Regions from separate parts of the Homo sapiens genome. Here regions 1 and 2 are each linked to region 3. The links are contacts of gene promoters, found by promoter capture Hi-C in blood cells and fetal thymus (Javierre and others, 2016). All regions are on one chromosome and are shown on one strand. The core of a region is centred on a gene start or on the middle of the fragment in contact, and the rest is flanking DNA. Distances in the headings are between cores, read along the strand shown. Region 1 overlaps LRRFIP1 (LRR binding FLII interacting protein 1). Region 2 overlaps LRRFIP1 (LRR binding FLII interacting protein 1). Region 3 holds the start of HDLBP (high density lipoprotein binding protein).

What was found. Contacts are between HindIII fragments. The CHiCAGO score rates a contact against its expected background, and 5 or more counts as called.
Region 1: a fragment that was not itself captured here is called in contact with the fragment with the promoter of HDLBP in region 3 in 1 of 17 cell types (neutrophils); the score reaches 5.7 in neutrophils.
Region 2: a fragment that was not itself captured here is called in contact with the fragment with the promoter of HDLBP in region 3 in 1 of 17 cell types (neutrophils); the score reaches 6.4 in neutrophils.

Annotation. Positions count from the first base shown.
Region 1 is chr2:237,698,034-237,702,247 of GRCh38, forward strand. All of the region lies in intron 1 of LRRFIP1 (LRR binding FLII interacting protein 1), which reads left to right. Among named protein-coding and RNA genes, the nearest start is that of LRRFIP1, 73 kb to the left of the region's middle. RefSeq lists a silencer at 324-373 and enhancers at 2,367-2,416, 2,427-2,476. The HindIII fragment of the contact is 2,936 bases long and covers 107-3,042 here.
Region 2 is chr2:237,680,029-237,684,580 of GRCh38, forward strand. The region is part of intron 1 of LRRFIP1 (LRR binding FLII interacting protein 1); the gene reads left to right. Among named protein-coding and RNA genes, the nearest start is that of LRRFIP1, 55 kb to the left of the region's middle. The HindIII fragment of the contact is 2,597 bases long and covers 1,958-4,552 here.
Region 3 is chr2:241,313,157-241,317,311 of GRCh38, forward strand. HDLBP (high density lipoprotein binding protein) reads right to left here and starts at 2,516. Exons shown (of 28, transcript NM_005336.6): 1 at 2,414-2,516. SEPTIN2 (septin 2) reads left to right here and starts at 2,769. Exons shown (of 13, transcript NM_004404.5): 1 at 2,769-2,826. RefSeq lists enhancers at 1,492-1,541, 2,422-2,471, 2,492-2,591, 2,517-3,241, 3,232-3,291 and 1 more and silencers at 1,772-2,151, 2,692-3,041. The HindIII fragment of the contact is 7,846 bases long and covers 1,172-4,155 here.

The DNA.
Region 1 (4,214 bases), core at 325-2,824, 3.6 Mb before region 3:
TGTGAGGTTTGAATAGGTCAATGTGTGAGTCATCAATAAAGTAACATCAATCATTTTGTTCCCGATTAATACGTTTGCTATTTTAGGATGCGAAGGACTTTAAAGAAGCTTATTATTCTGAAAAGCAAAGCCTGGAGATTTCCAGTAGCAAAACAGACACAGTCTGTGGACAATCTCAGTGTACAAATAATTCACCTCTGGCATGAACCCAAAGAATTTCAGAGGGGAAGGAAGCTCTTAAAGATTACGTCCCCTCCTACTTCTTTAATGAGGGCTGGGGTTCAAAAACCGAGTAACTTATCCAGGCTCACATAACTGTAGGTGACAGAGCCCAAGCTGGAGGCTGTGGCTGGGTCTTCAGACTCCTTTCTTGACAGTCTGCACCTGCATAAACTCAGACCTTTACTGAGAACAGTGCAGCCATAGCTGAGAGAAGCAGTCGGCACCCAGCATTTCTTGGACTTGTCTGCCAGGTCCCCCGAGTGCAGAGGACAGTGTGCTGGCTCCTGGGGCCTGTGGGCCCGGCCAGGAGCAGCCTTGTAAGCTAAAGCCTTCTTTGAAGGTGGCCGTCTTACCGTAAACTTTCATGGTAATTTCAGTCTACTCCATAATTTGTCTGAGTTAATTTTGATGGAAACATAGTGTTTTAAGTAATCAGTTAGGCTTTGATCTCTAACTTTATGCCATCCAAATCTTCATGATGGCCTGAGCACCAGGCACCCAGACCTGTGCTCTGAATTGTGCCGGGGCTGGTTCATACAGTGTGATGGAGAGACGAGAGATCCACACTGGAGTTCTGAAGCTGTGGTTCTCAACCCTGTCTTTTTACAAGTTCCTTAACTTCCTTACTAGCCTGAAATGAAATGCATAGGTGAGAAAGTCAACCAGCGCACATAATTTCGAGTCAATATAACATTTCCTTAAAAAATAAAATACAGGTAGTTTATAGTAACATAATAAGAATTTTGATATAGAAATACTCAAGACCAAGTACACCAGCAGTTGAATGCAGTGATGAGACCTGCACACACCTGTGCCTGGCGTCACAGGGAGGCTGACACAGGTGTGTTGCACTGAGACCCACACACCACCCCTCATGTTGCTGTCTATGACGTGACATTCTACAAAGTTGACTAACTCTCAGGAAAGTTCTGAACAAAGCCAAGTATCATCATCTTCCTTCAATTTCCATGTCGATTGCATTCCTGGAATAGTTCATGTATATTTGAACTGTGTAAAACATATTTTGAGTTTATATGTAAGTTGCAATCAGTTTGTAAATCCAAAAATTAAAAATAGTGGTTTTTCTTTTCTTTTTTTTTTTTTTCTTTTTTTTTGAGATGGAATTTCGCTCTGTCGCCCAGGCTGGAGTGCAATGGTGAGATCTCGGCTCACTACAACCTCCGCCTCCCGGGTTCAAGTGATTCTCCTGCCTCAGCCTCCTGAGTAGCTGGGATTATAGGCATGCGCCACCATGCCCGGCTAATTTTGTATTTTTAGTAGAGATGGGATTTCACTATGTTGGTCAGACTGGTCTTGAACTCCTGACCTCAGATGATCCGCCTGCCTCGGCCTCCCAAAGTGCTGGGATTACAGGCGTGAGCCACCGCACCCGGCCAAAACAGTGGTTTTTCTATCTTCCTGAGCAGTCAAGGGAAAAGTTCTTCCCATCGCAGGCGTGTCTGAATGCGGGATGGTTGGCCGACCTGGCCCTGCCCCCCCGCCCCAATACCCTTAGCTTCTTCCCAATCTTTTTGACATCCCAGTCCCCCCAACATTTCCAAAATGCCCTCTAAGTCAACACTTCCGCCACTGCCAGCTGCCACCCCAGAGTGCCCTGTGCCTGGTAACGATCGTTCTCACAGTCATGGCCGTAGGGAAGGCTCTTTGTGGTTCCTGGGGGACTTCGTGAGATTGCCCACATGAGCATTTCTTTTGGAACTGAGATACAGTGCACATCGCCTCTGGGGGACATGGGGTGGTGGGTACACGGAACCGAGGTGAGCCTCCCTTGCGTTGCGGAGGTGCTAGCCTTGTGCCGTCCGTTCTTGTCCACGTCTGTGCAGGAGAACATCACCCGGCCCACTTGGTTGCTGTGAATAGCAAACTTTAGAGGCCACTGCATCTGAGGGTTGGGGGGTTTGCAGAGAAAACAAAAGTTGGTGGCTGTGGCTACTTCCTATAGCAAAGTGGCTCAGGAAAGGGATCCCGTGTCACAGCCTGGGTACACCACGGCCCCTCCAGGAGCTTGATTCCTTCTTAGCTCAGGGGAAGAATCGCACAAGGACCGAGGCCCCTGCTTGTCTGTGAACAAACTGGCCTTTGTGGCCACTTCAGGCTTCGGCTGCATCATATTCCTGTCACATTCACGTGAGTGAACTTGAATTACATCCTTAACACTTTTCCAAAAAGGTTATAAACTAGACTGGTGATGTATCATGGGGCCTAGAAAAATAATGCTGCTGCTTTTTCACTTCTCTGCTTGACGCTAAAACCTGGAGGCGAAAATGAATGTGTGTAATTAATAGGAGAACTTCCTCCTGTTTGCAGAGTGCTTTACAGCTGGCAAACGGCTTCTCTCCCTGAACAGCCCCGTGGGGCGTCATTTCCATCTGACATCTGAGGAGAGCTGCTGTTCATGGTCCAGTCCTCTGTCCATTGGCCCACTGGGTGTCCCTAATATGCGCTAACAGGCTCCTGGCAAACGGCGGGCATGGCAGCCACGAATCTGCACATGAGCTGTATGCCCTGGGTCTCCCCTGGGCTCTGCGGGGGGAGGTGGGAGCCGCCTCTGGTTCACATGCGGTGCTTTCCAGGCTGCAGGGCCTTCTCAGCCTGGGTGGAAGGAGTGACGTCAGAGTATTTCTCAGGAACTGCCTGCCCTAAAGTTGTGGCTCATAAACCCCTTCCAGCTTCTGTGTAGAATTCTGGACCCCTAGGGTATCACCACAGAGTTTAAAAGCAGAGTAAGAACATTTCCTGTGACTGTAGGGTGAGAGGCCCTGGGATCTGTAATTCTACACTAGGCTGGAATCCCAGAAAAGCTTCAATGCTCAGGAAATGTATGAGCAGTGCCAGGATCCCCTGAAGGAGTGTGGGGCTTTTGAAGCAAGCTGCCCAGCGAGCCTCCCGCAGCACCTGCTGTCCCTTTGCCAGCAGTCAGGGCCCCTGCCCCACCAGTGTTGGTTGTGTTTCTGTTCTTTGAGGAGACCACATGATGATCTTCTGGTAGGAGCCACAAGAAGGATACAAATGCCATTAGAGCTGCTAGAGCCCCAGACGTCACTGGAATTGGGGTTCAGGGTGTTGGGCTGTCCCCACCCTTAGGCAGTACTCCCACTGCCTACAACACCTCCAGCGCAGGCTGAGGCCATGCGAGGATGGAAGCACATGTGGGCTAGGCCAGGAGGGCGTGCGGGAGGGCTCTCCACTCTGCGCTCCGCTGGGGTTTCTCCTTGTGTCCTGGTCAATAACTTCTTCTCTCTCTGGTTCTCCTTGGCCTGAGCCCCCAGCCTGAGCCGGGCTGTCCCTGAGTTCCCTGACCCGGAAGAAGGGACGGCCATTATCTTTGGGTGACTGTCTTCTTATAGCTGGGAATCTCTGGGGCTCTGAGCGGGAGGCCCATGGGGAGCCCTGGAAGAACAGGCATGGGTTAGACTGTTTACCTCACTGCCCTGTGTGCCCTGCCCCGGTAGAAGCCGTTTCTGCTGTGTGGTTCTGTCTAGAACTAGAGCCCCTCAGGGCCCTCTGCATGCCGTGGGGTCCCTTTGCAAAGCACCTCCTAACATGTGCTTTTATCTGTGGCTCGGGATGGGGATGGTGACTTCTTCACGCAGTCTTCTGCAGGCCTCTCCAGCCTGGCTCCCGAGATGTCACGCATGGGTCCATGCAGCCCAGAAAAGACCCTGCAGGGGGAGAAGGGTCACTTTGGTGCCTATCTCCCCAGCTGGCCTGTGGGCTGGGTGCCTGGCAGATGGGGCTCCCAGGGAGGTGCCCCCATAGACTTGGGCTCCACAGCAGGCTGTGGGGCTGGCATTAATGTGGCTGGGAGAGCCTGGCTGTCTTTTTAGCCATTTGTTTCGGAGGCCCTGGGGGTCATACTTGTGCTTCCTCGTGTATTTTTAGATCTCTTATCACCGTACACACCACCTCCCTATCAGAGGGCTGTCATATTCACATATGGTAAAATAAGACGCAACAATAGAACTCGAGTC
Region 2 (4,552 bases), core at 2,006-4,505, 3.6 Mb before region 3:
AAATGCAGAGAGCAATACCTTGTCTCTGAACAAGAAAACTCCACATTAAAAAGACACGGATCCATCCCCAAATAAATGATAAATACAGTTGGCCCTTTGTGTCTGTGGGTTCCACATTCATGGATTCAACCCATCTCAAATCAAAAATATTTGGGAAAAAAAAAGGCTGGGTGCAGTGGCTGGCCAGGCACAGTGGCTCAGGCCTGCAATCCCAGCACTTGGGAAGGCCAAGATGGGAGGGTCGCTTGAGGCCAGGAGTTCAAGACCAGCCTGGTCAACACAGTGAGGCCCCATTGCAATAAATAAATAAGAAAATATTTGGAAAAAAAATGGATGGTTGCCTCTGTACTGAACATGTACAGACGTTTTTCTTGTCATTATTCTCTAAACAATACAGTCTAACAACTATTTACATAGCATTTACATTGTATTAGGTATGAACAGGAACCTAGAGATGATTCAAGTACACAGGAGGATATGCACAGGTTATGTGCAAATACTCCACCATTTATGCTCAGAGACTTGAGCATCTCCAATTTTGGTATCCCAGTGGTTGGAAGGGGTCCTAGAACCAATGCCCCTTGAATACCGAGGGACAACTGCATAATGCATTTCAAATAAAATCTCAGTTTAGAGGGGAAGGTTGGTTGAAAGCTTAACAAATAGACTCTAGGCCAGCGTGGTGACACATGCCTGTAATCCCAGCGCTTTGGGAGATTGAGGTGGGCCCATCACTTGAGCCCAGGAGTTGGAGACCAACCTGGGCAACATGGTGAAACCCCATCTCTATAAAAATACAAAAATTAGCCAGGCAAGGTGGCACAGGCCTGTGGTCCCAGCTACTCCAGAGGCTGAGATGGGAGGATCACTTGAGCCCAAGAGGTGGAGGCTGTAGTGAGCCATGATCACGCCACTGCACTCCAGGCTGGGTAGCACAGTGAGACCCTGTGTCAAAAACAACAACAACAATGACAAAAAGAAAAAAAACAAATAGACTCCTGAGTTAATCTGGAAGAATAAATGGAGAGGCTGGCCAAGAAATTTTTGAAAAAACATAACAGGGGTAGTTTTCAACTTTTTTGTAGCCCACAGCTTCTTTATTCAAACACAATCTCACCTCCCTGTTCAAATACTTTCAGTGGGTCCTTTACTGCTTCCTGAATAAAGTCCAAGTTCCTTAACCTGCGTACTGTAAAAAGAGCATTCTGACAATATCCAAGGGTGTTCAAAAAGCAATGTTTACAACTCCCACAGTTCTACCACTTCGGCAGAGCAGCCCTGTGTTTATTCTGCATGTCCTTCTGGTCTTTGCATGCCTATGTCTTTTACACAGTCCTATTCTTTTTTTTCTTTTTTGAGATGGAGTCTCGTTCTGTGACCCAGGCTGGAGTACAGTGGTGTGATCTTGGCTCACTGCAACCTCCGCCTCCTGGGTTCAAGCGATTCTCCCACCTCTGCCTCCTGAGTAGCTGGCATTACAGGCCCATGCTACCATGCCTGTCTAATTTTTGCATTTTTAGTAGAGACGGGGTTTCACCACATTGGCCAGGCTGATCTTGAACTAGTGACCGCAGGTGATCTGCCTGCCTCAGCCTCCCAAAGTACTGGGATTACAGGTGTGAGCCACCGTGCCCGGCCGCAGTCCTATTCTTTTTTTTTTTTTTTTTTTGAGACGGAGTCTCGCTCTGTCGCCCAGGCTGGAGTGCAGTGGCGGGATCTCGGCTCACTGCAAGCTCCGCCTCCCGGGTTCACGCCATTCTCCTGCCTCAGCCTCCCAAGTAGCTGGGACTACAGGCGCCCGCCACTACGCCCGGCTAATTTTTTGTATTTTTAGTAGAGACGGGGTTTCACCGTTTTAGCTGGGATGGTCTCGATCTCCTGACCTCGTGATCCGCCCGCCTCGGCCTCCCAAAGTCCTATTCTTAATTGTGTTCATCTGAGGACTAAGAACTCCACAAGCTTGGCTTTGGGAATAGCAGTAAAGCAACAACACAGTGCTGGGCTCGAAGACGGACAGCTGCCTGAAAGACGGCAGAAGCTCCCTGAGTGTGCCAAAAGCACTGATGAAGTTTTAAACCTAGTCCAAGCTAACTGAGTGATGCTAGACCTTCCCGCAACTTCTCTAACCTGGATGTAAATTGTAATTCTAGAGCCCCTTGTTTTGCGGGAAAAAAATAATCTGTGTATGGTCAAATAGCAGATGGAATGAGCTGCCAGACGGAATCTTTTGCCAGTGCAACGGAACAAAGTACTTGTTCATGCCAGGCTCAGGTCCCCTGTTACTTGCAGTCCTCCGGGCAGTCCTGTCTGCTGGCTGTCTCTCTCCCTGCTTTACGTAGGAAGCTGGAAGAGGTCAGGGGATTTCCTTGAAATTACAGGCTAGTGAATGGCAGAACAGGAGCTCGAGCCTGATTATCTGCTAAACCTCTGCTTTGGAGCTTTGAGGCCTTCTGCACAGGTCACTTGCATTCTCTGTGTAGGGGTGCAGGGTTGTTTTCTCTCCCATCGGCTTACTCTTGGATTGGGCCTTCCCAGAGGTGCCGAGAAGCAAAACCCAGTTCTTTGATCTTCTCACTTCAGCTGTTCTTTCTTCCAGCCAACTTCCAGGATTACATCCCTTGGTGTGACCACACCACATCTGAAATCTCAACTCCCCACTTCCCACCCAGTGACCTGCACCTCCTGTCTTTCAATGCTCCTGGCGCTGACTTTCTTGCCGTCCCTGACAAGCAGCCCTGCCTTCAAGTTCTCACTGGATGAAAGAAGAAGGCAACAGATGTTAGATGCCGTGTGCACATATTCCCATCTTGACCATTCTTTCTGTGCATGCTTTGCTGTGGAACTGTTGGGGCCCCATCCAGCTGTATAAGCTGAGACATGAATGTGCTTCCACAGTGTGGGCACCTCGGATGCAGGTACAGGCCCCTCTAGATCCAGGGCCACTTGGCAATGTCTGAGATATTTTTGGTTGTAACAGCTGGGGTGGAGAGCGCTGCCAGCATCTGGTGGGTGGAGCCAGGAACGCGGCTAGCCATCCTGCAATGCACAGGACAGCCGCCCACGACAAGGAACTGTGCAACCCCAAACGTCAGGGGACCCTGCTCTTTATCAATCCTAGGGTTTCCCAAAAAGCCCGACAGCACATTTGATACAGATGCCACCAACGGGGTGGAGACAAGGGGCGAGGGCTTCAGTGGAATCTCAGCAACTAAAATCAAGCCGACGGTCAGGTCAGAGAAGCATTTGGAAAGCCTCCAGTGCGTTTAGGGGACCACGCCCTCTCATCATGCCAAGGCAGCTGCCCAGTGAGGTACAGGGTATAAAGGTGACGTGGTCAGGAGTGGCTATTTGATCTCCAGTTATTCCAGAATTTCCACTCTCGTGCCAAGCATGTCTCTCCAAATGGCTGCTCTCTGGCGTTCCTCACACTCCCCCTGAAGTTCATCTAAGATCTTCATTCTTCAAAGGTGAGGCTTGTATGTTCTATGTCCAAGTCTTCTCTAAAGATATCCAATTTGTACACATGGAGAACATTTTTTGTACTCGAATAGTTGATGACTTTGCTTTGAGCTATCTCTCAAGGGCCAAAGTGCAAAAGGGCAAACCCTTCTATTAGAGTGTGGGTCTATGTTTTTAGTGTTATGCCGAAGTGTGTTTTAGCCTTTATTTTCCTTTATGGAAATTCATTTTCTTGGAAAGATCATTTTGGGGATGCTGTTTTAGGATTTCTGTACCTTCAGCTGGAAGGATGCTCACCGTTCCTGATGTTCATGTCTGCCCTTCAGTCAGGGAGCCTGGAAGCCAAGTTGCTTAGTGGCAGTGCTTTACTTTTAAGCCTTCGAATACATCTTGAGTACCTTAAACTTCTCTGTATGCTATGGGTACTGTTTAAATTCAGATTATGGAGTCCTATTCTCCCCACACTTCTTTTTTTTGTGAATGACATTTATCAATGACATTTGTAGCGTGGTGGATTCTGAAGTTTTCAGCTAGTAGCGTAAAGATTTATTTCATGGCTCTGACTGTCAGGAATATTCTCTTTTCTAGAATGTTAAACTCATAGGCAGGATTACTGAGGCAAAGCCACATAAATGAGGGAATCTCTGGAAAAAATACATTGCTTTTATTTTGTACTAAAATTGCCATTTTTTTTTTTTTTTTGGCCAAGTATAGTGGCTCACACCTGTAATCCCAGCACTTTGGGAGGCCGAGGCGGGTAGATCTCTCGAGGCCAGGAATTCAAGACCAGCCTGGCCAACATGGTGAAACCCCATCTCTATTAAAAATACAAAAAAAAAGTAGTTGGGTGTGGTGGCACACACCTGTAGTCCCAGCTACTTGGGAGGCTGAAGCAGGAGAATCACTTGAACCCAGGAGGCGGAGGCTGCAGTGAGCCGAGATCACACCACTGCACACCAGCCTAGGCTACAGAGCAAGACTATCTCAAAAAAAACAAATTGCCATTTTCTATTCCTAAGTATATATTGAAGCATTTGATTTATTTCTTCTCAGTGGGGTATACTGTTAGCTGGTGAATGCAGTTGTTGAGGAT
Region 3 (4,155 bases), core at 1,266-3,765:
GTCCACACCTTACACATATTTCTATCATTGCACTTATCACACCATAATGTAATTACTCTTCTACAAATAAGTCTCTCACACTAGACCACAAGCTGCCTGAGGAAAAGAAAAGTCTATATCCTCTTTTTTTGTTGGCTTTTTGAGACACAGTCTCACTCTGTCGCCCAGGCTAGAGTGCAGTGCTACAATCTCGGCTCACTGCAACCTCCGCCTCCTGGGTTCAAGCGATTCTCATGCCTCAGCCTCTTGAGCAGCTGGGATTACAGGCGCGCGCCACCATGCCAGGCTAATTTTTGTATTTTTAGTAGAGACAGGGTTTCACCATGTTGGTCAGGCTGGTCTCGAACTCCTGACCTCAAGTGTCCACCCGCCTCGACCTCCCAAAGTGCTGGGATTACAAGCGTGAGCCACTGCACCTGGTCGAAAAGACTATATCCTCTCAACCTTTGTATCTGCAGAACCCTTAACCCTACACAGCAATTTCCAGCAAATATTTTTTTGAATTGAAATGAAGAAGTGAGGTCATGAGGCTGAAGTCAGACAACTGGAAGGCCAAAACAACAAAACCTGGAAAAATACGTATTTACTCAAGAAGAAATTCTCCCACCAGGCCACTGAGAAGTTAGCTTTGCCCACTGGAGAGGACACTGTAACAGGGATTCAAGTAAGCCTAGTGGCGCTGAGGGACGTGATATAGGTCAACTATATCTTTGAGGTGCTCTCCTTACACTCAATGCACTTTTACCCGAATGACGTTAATTTGACTCCTGATAAGATGAGCTAAGTCCCTTCAACAGTGCTTGGCACCAAGCAAAACTAATAGCAGTAACAGGAAAGTTTAATCCTCATGATGAATTATTTAATGGGGTTTCAAACGCTGTCCCTGAGACTTGAGGCAGTAGGCTCCAGCTCCATTTTCCCCAAGTCTAAAACTTGATAGGTTGATGTTTCAGACTCAGAGATTCGGTAATCCAAATGATGGAAATAATTCTTACCCAAACACCTTTTCAACTATTTTTAAATACTGTTGCCAAGCATCCTAATATCATGTGTACTTAATGAATTTAGCCTAGGGATACTTTTACATGTCAAAAAATCAAAATATAAACCTAAGCACTACGTTTCATCCAGTGTTTCAGCATCCCAGATTTGCTTCCCTAAATGAACATTAAGCTTATTATGCAATGTGCCGCTACCAGGAGCCTTAGACAAAACCCTAATTGTGACTTAACCTATCTTAATAGGGTTTTAAGGAAGTTAGCTGCTAAGAAAGTGACTATCCTTAAGCAGACACCAAATAAATGTGAAGTCATTGATTGAGGGCTTAGGGTATAGGTAGCTATGAATCTGAGGACATAAAACGCAAAACTGAGGGGCAAATCGTCATGTTCCTTAAGATTACGACTCATCCACATTCCTTCAGCCGTTTAATTTCACCATAATAGGCACTGTTTAATAAGCAAAGCCCAAGTCGACTTCCTTCGATTTTACATGGCGTCCAAACACCATGTCAAGTCTGACCCTCTCATTTTTTAAGTCGAATGGAGAGGATATGTAGCAGCTAGCCTTGAGCACCTAACCACTTTTCAAAGGAGCTACGCACAAAAATACCCTAGCAACATGCCACGGTGTCAGAAAGGCTCAGGTTCCCAACACCATGCGGGTCAGCCATTAGGAACTCAGGAAGTGTTTCCTCTAAGCGGGGGAAACCTAGGAAGGCTTCCTGAACGAGGGGTATTTGCGCCAAGCCTTGACGTGAGTCTCGAACAGTTGCAGTGCCTCCAGGCCACGCGGGAGGGAGGAAAGGACACCCCGGGCCGGGGCACAACCCGCGGGCCGGAGCCGCCCGCGCCCATCCCGCTCAGGCCGCAGCCAGGCACGGCACCCTCCCGTCCCCGAGCCACGTCGCTGCTCGTGGGCTCGCGGAGCACTCCCCAGGTCTCACCTCGGGCCCCACACCAGAAGGAGAAAGCTAGGGGCCGCGCCAGCTCCGCCCTCCCCCGCGGGGCGGCGGGCCCCAGCCCGGGCACAGGAAGGCCACGTCCCCGGGGAGGGACGCCCGACTCGATGGTCTGCGCAGGGCCCGTCGGCCCCACGTGACGTGCGCGCAGCCAATCCCAGAGAGGCCCCCCGATCATCGAGACGGCGGCGGTGGTGGGCTAGACGAGTTTCGCGCGGCCGCTCGCCGTCCCCCGCCCAGTCGTACTCGGCGCCCCAGCTCGGTGCTGCCGCCATCTTCTTGGAGGACAGGAGGAGAGGCGAAGGCTCCCCCTCCCCGTGATCGCTCCGCACTCCCGCCACCACCTGCCCTCCCGCGACCGCCTCTCTCCTCCTCAGTGGGCACTTGTCTCCTTCTAACAAACGGCCTTCCCCCCACTCCAGTTACCCACCGCAAGGCGAAGATTCTCATTACCTGTTCCACTCTTATAAGCATAAGAAAACCGAGCTCATAAGGTAGGAACTGTGGCGAAACAGGGACAAGCCGCCATCTTGGTAAAGGAGAAGAGGCTACGCTTGACCTCCCCCCCCACCCCCAGCCTCTATATGGCCAACTGCCGTGGGAGGAGCACGGCGCTTGCGCAGAGGCGGACAACGCGGACGACTCTGGGCTTGCGCACTCGGAAGCCGGCCGCATGGGGGAGGGGAAGAAGGCCAGGTCGCACTGAGCCAGGAAGCAGTTGGCAAAGGGGCGGGGTGACGCGGTGACGCAATCCGCCTGCGCGCTGGGCGGGGCGGGGCGGGCTGGGGCGGGCTGTGAGCGGACCGCGAGCGCTGGGCGGGTCCGCGGCGCGGTCGGTCGGCGCCTGTTCTCGGGCTGTTTGGCGGGTGAGTGTCTCGCCGGTGTACCCCGCACAAGTTGTGGGCCGGCCCTCCCGAGGAGCTGCGGGGGACGCGCCGCTCGTCCCATACTCTCGGGCGGTGGTCGGCTGGCTCTGGGGTGCCGGCGGGGCGGTGTGGGGGAGGGGCGGCCGAGCCCAGGCTCTTCGGCACTTATCGTGGGCTCCCCCGTCCCGGGCGGTCCTAGTGCCGGCGACAGTGGCTCCGACACGGGCAGGCCCGGGCGCGGGAGTGGGGATTCCGGTGACCCCTTGTTGACCCTGCGGGAATTCCTCTGCACTGTCGTCGGTGCTGGGCCTCGGGGCGTCGAGTGCGGTCGAGGTCGGGAGGTTTGGTGCTTGGAGGGAGGATACAGGTTTAGGCCCGACAAACACTTAGAGCTTGTGTGGCCATCTTGTCTTTCTAACGGTGCCATTTCCTCCCTGAGGCGTGGAGGACTGGCCAGCCCCCAAACCTCCAAGCCCATCGGCTGGATGCCGTGGATAAGCGAGGGGAGAGCGACTAGGCCCTGTCTGCGGGTACCTTCGGCGAGGAGAGGCGACGAAGGTCTGCACCAGCGAGGCACGGACAGGCAGCAGGGGGTAGGGTATAGGGTTGGAGGCCGCCGAGTTGGCCCGGGGATGAGGAGCAAACCTGTGGCTTCCGTGGTCTCAGTGGAGTCCCAACTGTGACCTGGCCTACTGGCCCAGACAAACCTGGCTTGCTTTTTTACCTTTTCGGTCTAATTCTTGTCAGTGCCACCAGACCTTGTCCTCTCTCCACGGAAACACACGAACCAACTACACTGAACTTCTTGTAGTTCAAACTTCTGCACCTTTGGCCATTGCCCAAACTCTTAAATCTGGCTACTTCCCACCTTAACTGCCTTCTCCTTACCTAGTCTGTGCTTGTGGGATTCCGCCCAAATTAGATTTCCTCCAGACAGGCTTAGGTGTTTACCTGATGTTCCAGATGGTATTTGTCCAGTGGACTATTGGTGCTGTGAGGGCAGGGCACATGTTGTCACCCATACTCATTGCCTCGGTTGGTGTCTAGCACCTAGTAGGTTCTCAAATACTTTTTGAATCACAGTGCCTGCCGATATATTTAATGTTTCAAAATAGTTCTGCCGTCATAAAGAAAAACATCATGGTGTAGGGGTCATGAAAGCTGATTCTTGATACTTCTGATTTGAGCCTCATTGTTTTCAGTGATTTTTGATAGCTCCCATTAATGGGTTCTTTGCACCACCCAGCATCCTAACTCATGATGTGTACTGTTATGTATAATCTTGGCATTGATCTCATTAGCTATAAAGGTTGTCCTGATTTTTTTTCC